2 separate regions of the Homo sapiens genome follow, and region 1 is linked to region 2. The links are contacts of gene promoters, found by promoter capture Hi-C in blood cells and fetal thymus (Javierre and others, 2016). All regions are on one chromosome and are shown on one strand. The core of a region is centred on a gene start or on the middle of the fragment in contact, and the rest is flanking DNA. Distances in the headings are between cores, read along the strand shown.

Region 1 (7,245 bases), core at 1,114-3,613, 75 kb before region 2:
TGGGAAGTGAGGAGCGTCTCCGCCCGGCAGCCACCCCGTCCGGGAGGGAGGTGGGGGGGTCAGCCCCCCCGCCCGGCCAGCCGCCCCGTCCGGGAGGGAGGTGGGGGGGTCAGCCCCCCACCCGGCCAGCCGCCCCGTCCGGGAGGTGAGGGGCGCCTCTGCCCGGCCGCCCCTACTGGGAAGTGAGGAGCCCCTCTGCCTGGCCAGCCGCCCTGTCCGGGAGGGAGGTAGGGGGGGTCAACCCCCTGCCCGGCCAGCCGCCCCGTCCAGGAGGTGAGGGGCGCCTCTGCCCGGCCGCCCCTGCTGGGAAGTGAGGAGCCCCTCTGCCCGGCCACCACCCCGTCTGGGAGGTGTGCCCAGCGGCTCATTGAGAACGGGCCATGATGACAGTGGCGGTTTTGTGGAATAGAAAGGGGGGAAAGGTGGGGAAAAGATTGAGAAATCGTATGGTTGCCGTGTCTGTCTAGAAAGAGGTAGACATGGGAGACTTTTCATTTTGTTCTGTACTAAGAAAAATTCTTCTGCCTTGGGATCCTGTTGATCTGTGACCTTACCCCCAACCCTGTGCTCTCTGAAACATGTGCTGTGTCCACTCAGGGTTGAATGGATTAAGGGCGGTGCAAGATGTGCTTTGTTAAACAGATGCTTGAAGGCAGCATGCTCGTTAAGAGTCATCACCACTCCCTAATCTCAAGTACCCAGGGACACAAACACTGCGGAAGGCCGCAGGGTCCTCTGCCTAGGAAAACCAGAGACCTTTGTTCACTTGTTTATCTGCTGACCTTCCCTCCACTATTGTCCTATGACCCTGCCAAATCCCCCTCTGCGAGAAACACCCAAGAATGATCAATAAAAAATAAAAAATAAAAAATAAAAAAAAAAATAATAATAATAATAAAAGAAAACAAAAAAAAAAGAAGAGGCCACTCTAGGCTTTGAAAATATCTATAGTTTGATAAAGCCAAAGCATGTAATTTACAAAGACAATTTTCCACTTCAGTTGTACTTCGATGCCTAAGGAAAAGTCCCATTATTTTTGAGTAATTTAAAATCAAAATGATATTTTGGCCAGGCACGGTGGCTCACACCTGTAATCCCAGCACTTTGGGAGGCTGAGGCAGGCAGATAGCCTGAGGTCAGGAGTTCCAAACCAACCTGGCCAACATGATGAAAACCTGTCTCTACTTTAAAAAATACAAAAATTAGCCAGGCATGGGGATGCACACCTGTGCTCCCAGCCACTCGGAAGGCTGAGGCAGGAGAATCGCTTGAACCCAGGAGGCGGAGGTTGCAGTGAGCCAAGATTGTGCCATTGCACTCCAGCCTGGGTGACAAGAGCGAAACTCTGTCTCAAAAACCAAAAAATAAAATAAATAAAATACATCATTCTTCCCCACAAACCCCCTGTTTTCATCAAGAAAGCAGGTATTAGTGTAATGATTCTTAGCATTGTCACTTGATTTTTTTCTAAGTAATTTATAATTCTTCAGAGTGGTTTTTATCTCATTGACATTTTATTGGACAAAATTACCCTATGACACAAATTTATAAAATTTATACAAAATCTTATATTACAGAGGTAACTTTTTGCAGTGTTTTATTATGTTTTGGGATGCCAAAATACAAATAGTTTAAATGTAAAATTTAAACAACTATCAAAATAACACAGTAAAACCCTGTTATAAGCTAGCATATTGTTGCATAAATATAAGCACAAAGTCATATAATTTTTCCAAAATGTATTGATTTATTTTTTTAAAATCATATTTTACAAGTAACTGAAGAGATGGGTAATCCTCTCTCCTTACATTGTACCCAATACCAGTGGTATATATCACCAGTGTATGAGTGAAATCTGCTGATTTTTTTTCACTGAATTGATTAGTTGTTTCAACTTTATGTGAATACAGACTGAGAAGCCTTGATGTCACAAAAGACCAGAGCAAGCTTGGTTAGACTATACTTTAAAGATCTATACCATCATAACTAACTCTAATTTGGACCCCTCCAAAATACTGGCGCATGCCTGAATTACCTAGGTAAGGATGTAGAGCTGCTGTCTTGGCTTGAAGACGGAAATTATAGTTCGAAACACTAAGATATACCAGAGTTAGAAGAATGTTTTAGTGGAAAATGTCACATCAAGGACTCCACTGAAGATCATTTCTAAATATATCCAGGTTCACAGCCATGCTGCTTGCATCCATGTATGTCAGATTACCTATCTTTTTGCTACATACCACGATGCAGTATCATACTTGTTAATATTCCTTAAACAGTTTAGGCAAATTATCACAGACATAATATATATTTGGAGTAAATAAATATGGCCATTTTCTCATCAAAATCTGGCTGTTGGTGAAAAAAAAAGAGTTTTGCAGTTAAATTTTTGTTATAAAGTGTCATGTTGGGAAGAATATTCAGAAAAGGGGGACTACCAGTGAACTATTAAGAGTTCGTTCCATGGGAATTCTGTTCTCGATGTAGTTTCCAAAGAGATAATGCGACCTTGGCCTAACACTTTCATTTGACAGAATAAACAGAGGACCTAAAGTTTATGTATTTATTTATTTTTATTTTATTTTTTATTTTTGTGGAGACGGGGGTCTCGCTATATTGCCTGGGCTGGTCTGGAATTCTTGGCCTCAAGCTATCCTCCTGCTTCTACTTCCCTAAATGCTGGGATTATAGGCATGCGCCATAGCACCTGGCCTAGCCCTAAAGTTTAAATGACTTATGAAAGGTCAGGTCATATAATTTGTTGCCAAAACAAAGCTTCCAGAATAGTGTTTTTTCTTGTCCATAATTTTTATGTTTTTATTATTATTTTTTTTTGAGATGGGGTCTTGCTGTGTCACCTAGGCTGGAGTGCAGAGGTGTGATCTCGGCTCACTGCAACCTCTGCCTCCCAGGTTCAAGCGATTCTCCTGCCTCAGCCTCCTGAGTAGCTGGGATTACAGGCACCTGCCACCACACCAGCTAATTTTTGTATTTTTAGTAGAGACAGGGTTTCACCACGTTGGTCAGACTGGTCTCAAACTCCCGACCTCAAGTGATCCTCCTGCCTGAGCCTCCCAAAGTGCTGGGATTCCAGGCGTGAGCCACCGTGCCCGGCCTTGTCCATAATTTTTAAACACAACTTTTCCATTTCAGTTGTGACATATAATGCCTCAATTTTTGTTTTAAAACATGGAAATTGGACACAATGTTATTACTAAAAACTAATCTTTCTCCTTGTTTATTTATTTATTTATTTTATTTTATTTGAGACGGAATCTCGCTATGTCTCCCAGGCTGGAGTGCAGTGACATGATGTCGGCTCACTACAACCTCTGCCTCCCGGGTTCAAGCAATTCTTCGGCCTCAGCCTCCCGGGTAGCTGGGACTACAGGCGCGCACTACTGTGCCTGACTAATTTTTGTATTTTTAGTAGAGACGGGGTTTCACCGTGTTGGCCAGGCTGGTCTCCAACTCCTGACCTCAGGTGATCCATCCGCCTCGGCCTCCCAGAGTGCTGGGATTACAGGCATGAGCCACCACTCCTGACTCTCCTTGTTTACTTTTAAGCAAGAAAGGAAAATTAAATGTAGAACAATTATGATAGACTTGTAAAAGGAATAAACACCCCAGATTTGCAGGCCAATTCTACTCTGAATCCCAAAATACATAGTTTCTTCAACTCTAATGGGTCAGAGAACTATGTGGAAAGTTTTTTCCAGAAAAGATCTTTGATTAAAACACACACACACACACACACGCACACACACACACACACACACACTCATTTTGGGGTAAGAGATTTTTCCTAAATAAGTATAGCCATCTTGTTTCTATCATTTATAATTCAATCAGGTGCAAAGAGAGGACTATATAACCATTTCTCCCTTTAAATGAGAAACTGGGATACAAGTGGTTTGAGGTGGGGAAGAAATGATACATTTTAAAAACTCAAATGACAAGTTCTTCCTGGCTGGAGAGTGAGACAAGAGAAACCACAAAACCCCAGACTGTGCAATCTGTAAAGACAGTGATAAAGTGACTACTTCATAGATGAAGATGGACAACTTGAACTTCCCCTTGAGTTTCACAAGGGAGTCCTGTGTGTGAGAAGGAAGGAACATATTTGAGTGTAATGTGCAGTTGCATTTAGATCTAAGGAAACTTAAAATGAATTTAAGTTTCCTTAATTCAAAATGAATTTTTGAGCAGTTCTCCACGGTAACTTTAATAAGTCTCCATTTCAACTTTCTGTTCTCAATCCCATCTACAGCTCAAACATATGCAGTATCTGCCAGCCCTGTCCATGAATTCCTGAAGTCCCAGCCAAGTGCCTCTCAGCTCAAAAAGCCCCTTGCTTGCCAGGGGTCAGCCATGTCTGGAAGGCTCTGAAAGAGGTCTGCTGGGCAGTAGGACTGCTTCTGTGGATGAGAGGCCTCTTGTTGGACTGGAGAGACCAGGAGCTGTAAGAAACCCAGAAATAAAAAGTCTCAGATGGGGACAACTGCAAAGTACCAGGAGTTCCTCCCTCCTCTCCACCATATCCCACAGTTGGACATCTCCCCGAAAACCCCACCCCAAGTAAAATTTATTTGCCGTCTCACCCTCAAATAAGAATGAGTCAATCATTAAGTAATGCAATTATACAAGCATAGTTGTAAACAACTATATTGCAAGTATGCTGACATGCAAAGATGTGTTTTACCTTTAATTACCAGAAGAAAATAGACAACTTGAGTTTGAGCACCTAACTTGAAGAAGAAATTAGGAAATAATAGTCCCTCCCCACCACATCCATCATTCCCAACCCGTTCTGCCTAAAAATCGTTTACATTGTGGATTTTATTTGTAATTTTTAAAGTCTTATTTTAAATTAGGTCCCAAAGAAAGAAGCTGGCATTTCTTATTCTTTTCAGAGTGGTCTAAGAAAAAAAATAGGAAAGCAAACTCTTTCTTTTTTTCTTTTCTTTTTTTTTTGGAATCAATACCCGAGATAACAGCAGAAGCAAAAATCCACCGGTGCGTCAGCAAGCAGGGCACTCGGCCATTCATCTCCATCCTTCCTTCTGAGCTGTTCTCCAGCAGGCTCCGGCCGCAGCTCCAGGCCACTAGAGCAGATAGATAATGTAGGACAGAATGACCAGGCCTATGATGGCAAAGAACATCAGGATGAAAATATCCAGCATTGTGGATTCCTAGGCCGACCAAGCCCCTGGATTCTGGTGAACCGTGAGCTGTGAGCACGGAGGTTGCAGTCGGTGGAGAGAAATGGCTCCCCTTCACTCCACAGCTCAGCCCTGGTTCTTTCCCCTCCCCCTCCCAGGGGCCTGAGACTGAAGGATGCTGCAGCTCCACCAGCAGCTTCCTGCCCCCCCACCAACCACAGCCAACCAATCACAAAGCCTGGGGGTGGATAGCCAAGGAGATGCCAGATTTAGACCCACAGAACCGCAGAATCAAAGGGGCTCAATTTCTCCCCAGGAACCCAATCCCACCCCTTTGTATCTAAATGGAGCCTGCATGCTCTGGATGTAGGAGGAGATAGGATCCTACCCAGCTCCCCCAAGAGTGAATCCTCCTGACTGCCTTCTTCGCGTTTCCTCTCACACACCTCGGGCAGATTATCTCAGAAAAATCATGGTTGGGTATTGGGTGGGCCATTGGCAACTTCTAAAGGTCACATTATGGGGAGACACAGACAAAAGTTTCGTGTGGATCTCAGTGGGCTTCCCTGAGGGATGAAGCTAACATTTATACATTTCCTACACTGGGCCAGATATCGTACATGTGGTGCAATTTCAACCTCCCTATGAGTCTTTCATAGATGGGGCTCAGAGATGGTCAGAAACTTACCCTAATGGTTCATAGCTTAGATGTGTCAGAGACCAGCCGGGCGCAGTGGCTCATGCCTATAATCCCAGCACTTTGGGAGGCCGAGGCAGGTGGATCACAAGGTCAGGAGTTCAAGACCAGCCTGGCCAAGATGGTGAAACCCTGTCTCTACTAAAAATACAAAAGTTAGCCAGGCTTGGTGGTGCATGCCTGTAATCCCAGCTACTTGGGAGGCTGAGGCAGAGAATTGCTTGAACCCGGGAGGCAGAGCTGAGATCGCGCCACTGCACCCCAGCCTGGGCTACAGAGCAAGATTCTGTCTCAAAAAAAAAATAAAAATAAAAATTAGCCGGGCGTGGTGGCAGGTGCCTGTTATCCCAGCTATTCAAGAGGCTGAGGCTAAAGAATTGCTTGAACCCGGCAGGCAGAGGTCGCAGTGAGCTGAGACCGTGCCATTGCACTCCAGCCTGGGTGACAGAGCGAGACTCCGTCTCAAAAATAAATAAATTAATAAATAAAATAAAAAGTAAAAGGCTGGGTGTGGTGGCTCATGCCTGTAATCCCAACACTTTGGGAGGCTGAGGTAGGTGAATCACCTGAGGTCAGGAGTTCAAGACCAGCCTGACCAACATGGAGAAACTCCAGCTCTACTAAAAATACAAAATTAGCTGGGCATGGTGGCACATGCCTGTAATCCCAGCTACTCAGGAGGCTGAGGCAGGAGAATCGCTTGAACCTGGGAGGTGGAGGTTGCAGTGAGCTGAGATTGTGCCATTGCACTCCAGCCTGGGCAACAAGAGTGAAACTCCGTCTCAAAATAATTAATTAATTAATTAAAAATGTCAGAGACCAGGATTCAAAACTAGGCATGCTGACACCAAAGTCCATATTCTTCCTCTTGCGCCACACTGCTCCCCCTGTTGGTCCGGAAGGCCCCTACACCCCACGTGCACTGCTCAGCTTGCAGTGGACTGCTTTCACATCGATCCACCTACAGGACGAGCACCAGAGACCCCTCCTCCACCCACTCCTTCGTCTCTTTGCAGTCATTACCCACTGTTTTGTTTTCCTTCTTTCTTTTTTTATAGAGACGGGGTCTTGCCATTTTGCCCAGGCTGGTCTCAAACTCCTGGACTCAAGCGATCCTCCCACCTCAGCCTCCCAAAGTGCTGGGATTGCAGGTGTGAACCACCGCACCCGGCCTAGTTTTGTTTTCTTTGGTATCCTCTTCCAAAAGCTCAGCATAGTGTTGTACACAGAGAGGACACTGAAGAATTCCCCAGGGGTATCCCTGAAATTTAAAAAATTCAAGTGGTTTCTTCTGAGGGGGAAAAGAGAATTATTTTATTCTTTTTATTTATTTATTTATTTATTTATTTATTTATTTATTTATTTATTCTTAGACGGAGTCTTGCT
Region 2 (7,578 bases), core at 4,869-7,368:
TGAGATCACACCATTGCACTCCAGCCTGGGCAACAAGAGCAAAACTTCGTCTCAAAAAAAAAAAAAGGGCCGGGCACAGTGGCTCACGCCTGTAATCCCAGCACTTTGGGAGGCCGAGGCGGATGGATCACCTGAGTTCAGGAATTTGAGACCAGACTAGCCAACATGGTGAAACCCCGTCTCTACTAAAAATATAAAAAAATTAGCCGGGCGTGGTAGTGGGCGCCTGTAATCCTAGCTACTCAGGAGGCTAAGGCAGGAGAATTGCTTGAACCCAGGAGATGGAGGTTGCAGTGAGCCAACATGGTCCCACTGCACTCCAGCCTGGGTGACAGAGTGAGATTCTGTCTTAAAAAAAAAAAAAAAAAAAAAAGAGTGTAAAGGGGTCTAAAATGAAAATATTTGAGAACCACAGCTCCTAGTAAAGAAGTGGCTCAGAGAATAAACTGCTGGGGTTGTGAAACGGCTCAGAGAAGAAATGATACCTGAGCAGAGTTTTAAAGAACAGGTTGGACGGGCATGGTGGCTCACACCTGTAATCCTAGCACTTTGGGAGGCTGAGGCAGGTGGATCATTTGAGGTCAGGAGTTCGAGACTAGCCTGACCAACATGGTAAAATCCCCATCTCTACTAAAAATACAAAAAAAAAAAAAAATTAGCTGGCCATGGTGGTGTACACCTGTAATTCCAGCTACTTGGGAGGCCGAAGCAGGAGAATCACTTGAATCCTGGAGGCAAAGGTTGCAGTGAGCTGAGATGGTGCCATTACACCCCAGCCTGGGCAACAAGAGTGAAACTCTGTCTCAAAATAAATAAATAAATAAATAACACATAGTGGCTAAAGCAGGTGAATGCATAAATACAAGAAAGTGTGAATCTAAGCTATATGTCCAGAAATCCTAACTGGTTTGGTGTTTCTGGTGTGTGAAATATAAGAGGCAAGGTGGCAGAAGATGGAGCCAGGGAAGAGGTAGGCCATTTCAAGTGACTTCGATGCTTAAACAGCTTGGACTGTATTCTATAAGTACCAGAGGGTCGGTACATGTTTTTTGTTTTGTTTTCTTGTTTTTTTTTTTTTTTTTTTTCCTTGAGATGGAGTCTCACTGCATGCCCAGGCTGGAGTGCGGTGGGGCAACCTCGGCTCACTGCAACTCTGCCTCCTGGGTTCAAGCAATTCTTCTGCTTAGCCTCCTGAATACCTGGGATCACAGGTGCGTGCCATCACCCCTGACTAATTTTTGTATTTTTATTAGAGACAGGGTTTCACCATGTTGGCCAGGCTGGTCTCAAACTCCTGGCCTCGGGTGATCTGCCTGCCTCGGCCTCCCAAAGTGCTGGGATTACAGGTGTGAGCCACCATGCCTGGCCAGCACATGATTTTAAGCAGTGGGAAATTATGGTCTGACCATATAGAGGCCGATGCAATAGCTTTGAAACAAAGGCAGAACGTGGAAGGCATGGGCAGAAAAATTTAGGAAACAGAGTCAAGTTGATAGACCTTGGTGACTACTTCTAGGAGCCTGGGAGAAGAGAATTAATTGTGTCCCTGTTTTTTGGTTGAGACACTGGTGGTAGTACCAACCAGGAACACTATTCCTCCTATAACCATAGCCTTCTCCATCTTGGTTGACGGCAATGATATCTTCCAATTGCTCAGGCCTAAAGACTTGGAGACATTTTGATTCCTATCTTTCATACCCCACATTTTATTGGCTCTACCTCCAAAACACATCCAGAATCTGACTACATTACATCCACTACTACCATTCTAGTCCAAACCACCATCATTTCTCTCCTGGGTTACTGCAATAGCTTCCTAATGGATCTTCTTACTTCTATCCCTGTGTCCTCTCCCACAGTGTAGTCTCAACAACTCAACCACAGTGATCCTTCTGACACATTAGTCAAATCATGTCCCTCCTCTGCTTAAAATCAAAGAATGTTTCCTCATTTCACTCAGCCAATGCCAAAGTCCACAGTGGTTTCATTCCATGACTTCCTTTTTTTGAGACAGAACTCTCGCTCTGTCACCTAGGCTGGAGTGCAATGGTGTGATCTCGGCTCACTGCAACCTCTGCCTCCCAGGTTCACATGATTCTCCCACCTCAACCCACCAAGTAGCTGGGATTACAGGCACCTGCCATCATGCATGGTTAATTTTTGTATTTTTGTAGAGACAGGGTTTCACCATGTTGGCCAGGCTGGTCTTGAACTCCTGACCTCAGGTTATCACCTGCCTTGGCCTCCTAAAGTGCTGGGATTACAGGTGTGAGCCACCGTTCCATTACTTCTGACTGCATTTCTTACTACTTTGCTCTTTACTCGTCCTGTCCAGTCACATCTGGCTTCCTTGCTGGTGCTCATTCGGTTCAGTCACACCCCTGCCTTAGGGCTTTTTATTGGAAAATGACAAAGGGTTTCTCTCTGTAGCCCAGGTTGGAGTGCAGTGGTGCAATCACGGCTCACTGCAGTCCCCAATTCCTGGGTTTAAGTGATTCTCCTGCCTCAGATTCCCATGCCACCAGCTTATTTTATTTTATTTTATTTTAAGACAGAGTCTCGCTCTGTTGCTCAGGCTGGAGTGCAGTGGCGCAATCTGGGCTCACTGCAACCTCCGCCTCCCGGCTTCAAACAATTCTCCTGTCTCAGATTCCTGGGTACTTGGGATTACAGGTTGCCCACCACCATGCCCAGCTGATTTTTGTATTTTTAGTAGAGATGGGGTTTCACCATGACGGGCAGGCTGGTCTCAAATTTCTGACCTCAGATGATCTGCCTGCCTCAGCCTCCCAAAGTGCTGGGATTACAGGCATGAGCCACTGTACCCAGCCGCCACCAGCTAATTTTTAAATGTTTTGTAGAGATGGACTCTCCCTATGTTGCCCAGGCAGGTCTCAGACTCCTGGGCTCAAGGGATCCTCCTGCTTCAACCTCCCAAATTGTTTCGGGATTATAGATGTGAGCCACTGTGCCTGGTTTCATGTCAATATCTTTTTTTTTTTTTTTTTGAGACGGAATCTTGCTCTGTCACCCAGGCTAGAGTGCACTGGCGCGATCTCGGCTCACTGCAACCTCCACCTCCTGGGTTCCAGTGATTCTCGTGCCTCAGCCTCCCGAGTAGCTGGGGACTGCAGGCACGCACCACGCCTGGCTAATTTTTTGTATTTTTAGTAGAGACAGGGTTTCGCCATGTTGCTTGGGCTGGGTCTTCAGCTCCTGAGCTGAGGCAGTCTACCAGCCTCGGCCTCCCAAAGTGCTAGAATTACCGGCATGAGCCACCATGCCTTGCTAATTTTTGTATTTTTAGTAGAGACAGAGTTTTGCTATTTAGGGCAAGCTGGTCTCTGACTCCTGACCTCAAGTAATACACCCACCTTGGCCTCCCAAAGTGATGGAATTACAGGCATGAGCCACCACACCTGGCCCCATTTTTGTTTTGTTTTGTTTTTTTTTTTTTGAGACAGAGTTTCAAACGCTCTTGTTGCCCAGGCTGGAGTGCAATGGTGCAATCTCAGCTCACTGAAACCTCCACCTCCCGGGTTTCAAGAGATTCTCCTGCCTCAGCCTCCTGAGTAGCTGGGATTACAGGCATGTGCCACCACGCCCAGCTAATTTTGTATTTTTAGTAGAGATGGGGTTTCTCCAAGTTGGTCGTCAGGCTGGTCTCAAACTCCCGACCTCAGGTGATCCGACCGCCTCGGCCTCCCAAGGCGCTGGGATTACAGGCGTGAACCACTGCGCCTGGCTAATGTTTGTATTGTTGTAGAAACGAGGTTTCACCATTTTGGCCAGGTTGGTCTCGAACTCCTGACCTCAGGTGATCTGCCCGCCTTGGCCTCCCAAAGTGCTGGGATTACAGGCGTGAGCCAGCGCGCCCGGCCGATTACCAGTTGTTTTTAATATAGATAAATACATAGAGATAGATATATCTCTATCTATCTCTATAGATATATATCTCTATAGAGATAGAGAGAGAGAGAGAGATAGATAGAGATAGATAGATAGATATCGGCCGTGGAGGTTGCGGTGAGCCAAGATCGCGCCACTGCACTCCAGCCTGGGCAACAAGAGCGAAACTCCGTCTCAAAAAAAAAAAAGAAAGAAAGAAAGAAAAGAAAGAAAAGAAAAAGAAAAAAAAACTGGTAATCAATTTATTAAAATAGTTGACTTAAGCATCTGCAATGGTGACTTCCACCTCAACTCCTGGCTCAATACTGATGGAAGTAATCTGCTTAACAATCTCAGAAGGACTGTGCAAGTCAATGAGTCACTTGTGGATTCTCATCTGGAAATGATCCCATGTCTTAGAACCTTCACCACAAAGTTTTTCTTGAAGTGATTCTCAAAGTCTTGGCAGGCATTCGAACTGGTCCTTTCACTTTGAGATTATTTTCCTTTGCTCCTCTGATCAAGTCAGCACACACCTTCTCCAGGGATTTTACGATGCGGCTCGTTAGAGTGACTCGAATTCGTGAATTGCCACCTCCGCCTCCCTGGGTGTTTTTCCGGTATCCTTAAAAGCCATGGCTGCTGCGCGGCTTCCTGAGCGACTGGTTCCTCGGCGAGGGCGAACAGCGGTGAGTCAGTAGCAGGAGCGTGCGGATCAGCGATCCGCAACACCTACGACCGCGTCTTCCTCAAAGAGCTATTTATCTATATACATTTTTGAGACGGAGTCTAGCTCTGTCGCCCAGGCTGGAGTGCAGTAGCGCGATCTCGGCTCACTGCCGCCTCTGCCTTCTGGGTTCAAGCGATTCTCCTGCCTCAGCCTCCGGAGTAGCTGGGATTACAGGCGCCCGCCACCACGCCCAGCTAATTTTTGTATTTTTAGTAGAGACGGAGTTTCCCTGTGTTGGCCAGGCTAGTCTCGATCTCCTGACCTCGTGATCCACCCGCCTCGGCCTCCCAAAGTGCTGGGATTACAAGCGTGAGCCACAAGGCCCGGCCACTATTTATATTTTACACTTGATCTTGGCCAAAAGGCCGAGAAGCGATACTATTTATATTTTTATAATACATATCCCCATCTAACATACTACATACTGCAATTACTTATTATATCTTTTGTTTAGTGTCTAATATCCTCCTCCACCTGCACCCCAGCAGAATGTAAGCTCCATAAGGAAAAGAATGTTGATCTATTTTGTTCTCTGATGTAATCCGCTGTACGCCCTGGACAGAACCTGCTGTAAAGTAGGAGCTCAATAAGTATGTGAATTAATGTATCGTGGGAAGGAAAGAACCCAGAGAATAAGGGGCGGCTGAAGCTGTGAAAGGAGCAATTAGGCCTGGCGCGGGGGCTCACGCCTGTAATCCCAGCACTTTGAGGGACCAAGGCGGGCAGATCACTTGAGATCAGAAGTTCGAGACCAGCCTGGCCAATAACATGGCGAAACCCCGTCTCTACTAAAAATACAAAAATTAGCCCAGCGTTGTGGCGGGCGCCTGTGGTCTCAGGTACTCTGAGGCTGAGACAGAGAATTGCTTGAACCCGGAAGACGGAGGTTGCAGTGAGCTGAGATCTCGCCACTATACTCCAGCCTGGGCGACAGAGTGAGACTCGGTCTCAAAAAAAGAAAAAAAGAGTGTGTGTTGGGGGGGACGGGTCAATAAATAGAGCAATACTGTATATGTAAAATACAGAATGGTATGATACCAAGAACACATAGATGGAATGATCTGCAGCACTTCTCAACTGTATTACATTCAACGAAACCGTTTAGAGCTTGTTCTCCCTCCCTCCCCCACTTTCTTTGTTCCTTGGGGAACCCCCACACGGCACAAACCGTGTTTTAATTCCTATTCTCTAGTGTGCAGATAAGTGCCTGGCACTATTAAGTGGTCAAAAGAGGTCGTGAGCAAGTTAACAAATCACTGTTTCCATGTCCCTAACTACTCTTAAGCTCGTAGAGAAGATACTTCCTATCTCTTGCGCTTCTACCTCAACTCCCACTTCGCAGAGAGGGCTAAAAGCGACGTCGTAAACTTATTACGTAATAAGGCAGCGCCCAGAGGCGGAAGAGGCCGGTTTTTGCTCCGGCCACGTGAGGAGGGTGGGCGGGGCGTTAAAGTTCATATCCCAGTGTCCTTTGAATCGACTTCCTTTTTTCTTTTTTCCGGCGTTCAAGATGTCGAAGCGAGGTGAGGTTTTGTTTCTGGAGGATCCTCCACCATCTGTCGTGCAGTGGCTGGCGGATTCGTCAGGAGCGGTGGCCCTAGGCAGCTGGGGCGCTTTGCTCTCCTTCAGGCCGGAGAGAGAGAGCCAGGCCACCGCGAGAGCACTGCCAGGGCCCTCGAAAGTGGCAGTGGGGTGCTGGAGAGTTGAGATGGCAGGATCCCGACGTGAATGTAGTCTGGATACCGCGAGATCGCTCCGCGAATAGGGCTATCGTAATGGGGTTGAAGTTAGACTGGATTAGGCCCTGGTTTGCGCGACCTCTGCGGTTTTATGCCTTGCAGGAGTAATTGCGTTTTGCGAAAGTTAGAGCAAGGGTTGAGTCGTCTAGGTTTCTTAATTTCGATGTCAGAGTGTTAATAGTAAGAAATAGGCTACTTTCCGTGAGAATCGGGTGGCACATGGGGACGGCATAAGTAAAATCCGAGCGAGCTAATCTATAGCGTACAGTCTATCAAAGCATGTGCGGTGAATTACAGCTTGAGTATGAGGGGGAACTCCGAACCATGTCTAGATTGTGATCTCTTTATCCTGTTTCCCTTCCCTTTATATCCACAGGACGTGGTGGGTCCTCTGGTGCGAAATTCCGGATTTCCTTGGGTCTTCCGGTAGGAGCTGTAATCAATTGTGCTGACAACACAGGTGAGGTCTTTGCACGTTGCTATACTCCCCCTTTTAAAAGCACTCAATGGGCCTGTGGCTAATGACCTATTGAGCCGTCAAGAAAGGGGAGAGTGAAAACATCGCTTTTGGGTGAAGTGGCAACATGTGTTGTTTGCTTCAATCGGTGGTGTGACAAGGCGTTCTTGCGGACTAACTGCTTGGGCAGTGAGTGGAGGGAGGGGCTTTGGAAGTGTTTGGGAAATGTTATACTGATGGAACGGCCTGATGGCCCTCAACATTTTTTATTTTTATTTACATTCTTTTGTAGGAGCCAAAAACCTGTATATCATCTCCGTGAAGGGGATCAAGGGACGGCTGAACAGACTTCCCGCTGCTGGTGTGGGTGACATGGTGATGGCCACAGTCAAGAAAGGCAAACCAGAGCTCAGAAAAAAGGGTGAGTAAACACTGAGCCCACCTTAATACTGATGAGTAGTGGGGGGACGCTTTCCTTTATTGGAAAATGGATCAGTTTTCAAGGCCTCAAGTTTGTTTTCCATTGAGAGGCAGTGTGAGATAAGTATCTTAAGTTTTTGCTCATATTGTGTTGGAGGGGGGACCATCATCTTGTCACTTCCATACCTTAGTTGTTTTTTTGTTGTTGTTTTTGTTTTGTTTTGTTTTGTTTTTTGAGATGGAGTCTCTCTCTGTCGCCCAGCCCATACTGGAGTGCAATGGCACGATCTTGGCTCACTGCAACCTCCGCCTCCTGGGCTCTCAAAAAAAAATATATTACAAAA

Evidence for each region. The method cuts DNA at HindIII sites, captures the fragments that hold promoters and counts their contacts. A CHiCAGO score of 5 or more calls a contact.
Region 1: a fragment that was not itself captured here is called in contact with the fragment with the promoter of RPL23 in region 2 in 4 of 17 cell types (activated CD4 T cells, total CD4 T cells, total CD8 T cells and 1 more); the score reaches 6.1 in activated CD4 T cells.

Annotation. Positions count from the first base shown.
Region 1 is chr17:38,923,632-38,930,876 of GRCh38, reverse strand. It overlaps LASP1NB (LASP1 neighbor), which reads right to left and starts at 5,263. Exons shown (of 2, transcript NM_001414697.1): 1 at 4,986-5,263; 2 at 1,496-4,460. The coding sequence starts at 5,183. The coding sequence ends at 5,106. RefSeq lists enhancers at 92-638, 639-1,184. The HindIII fragment of the contact is 828 bases long and covers 1,950-2,777 here.
Region 2 is chr17:38,852,261-38,859,838 of GRCh38, reverse strand. RPL23 (ribosomal protein L23) reads left to right here and starts at 6,118. Exons shown (of 5, transcript NM_000978.4): 1 at 6,118-6,141; 2 at 6,734-6,817; 3 at 7,107-7,235. The coding sequence starts at 6,129. It overlaps SNORA21 (small nucleolar RNA, H/ACA box 21), which reads left to right and starts at 6,844; the gene lies at 6,844-6,976. It also overlaps the pseudogene RPS20P35. RefSeq lists enhancers at 5,865-5,974, 5,698-6,481, 5,972-7,171, 6,482-7,265. The HindIII fragment of the contact is 31,460 bases long and covers 1-7,578 here.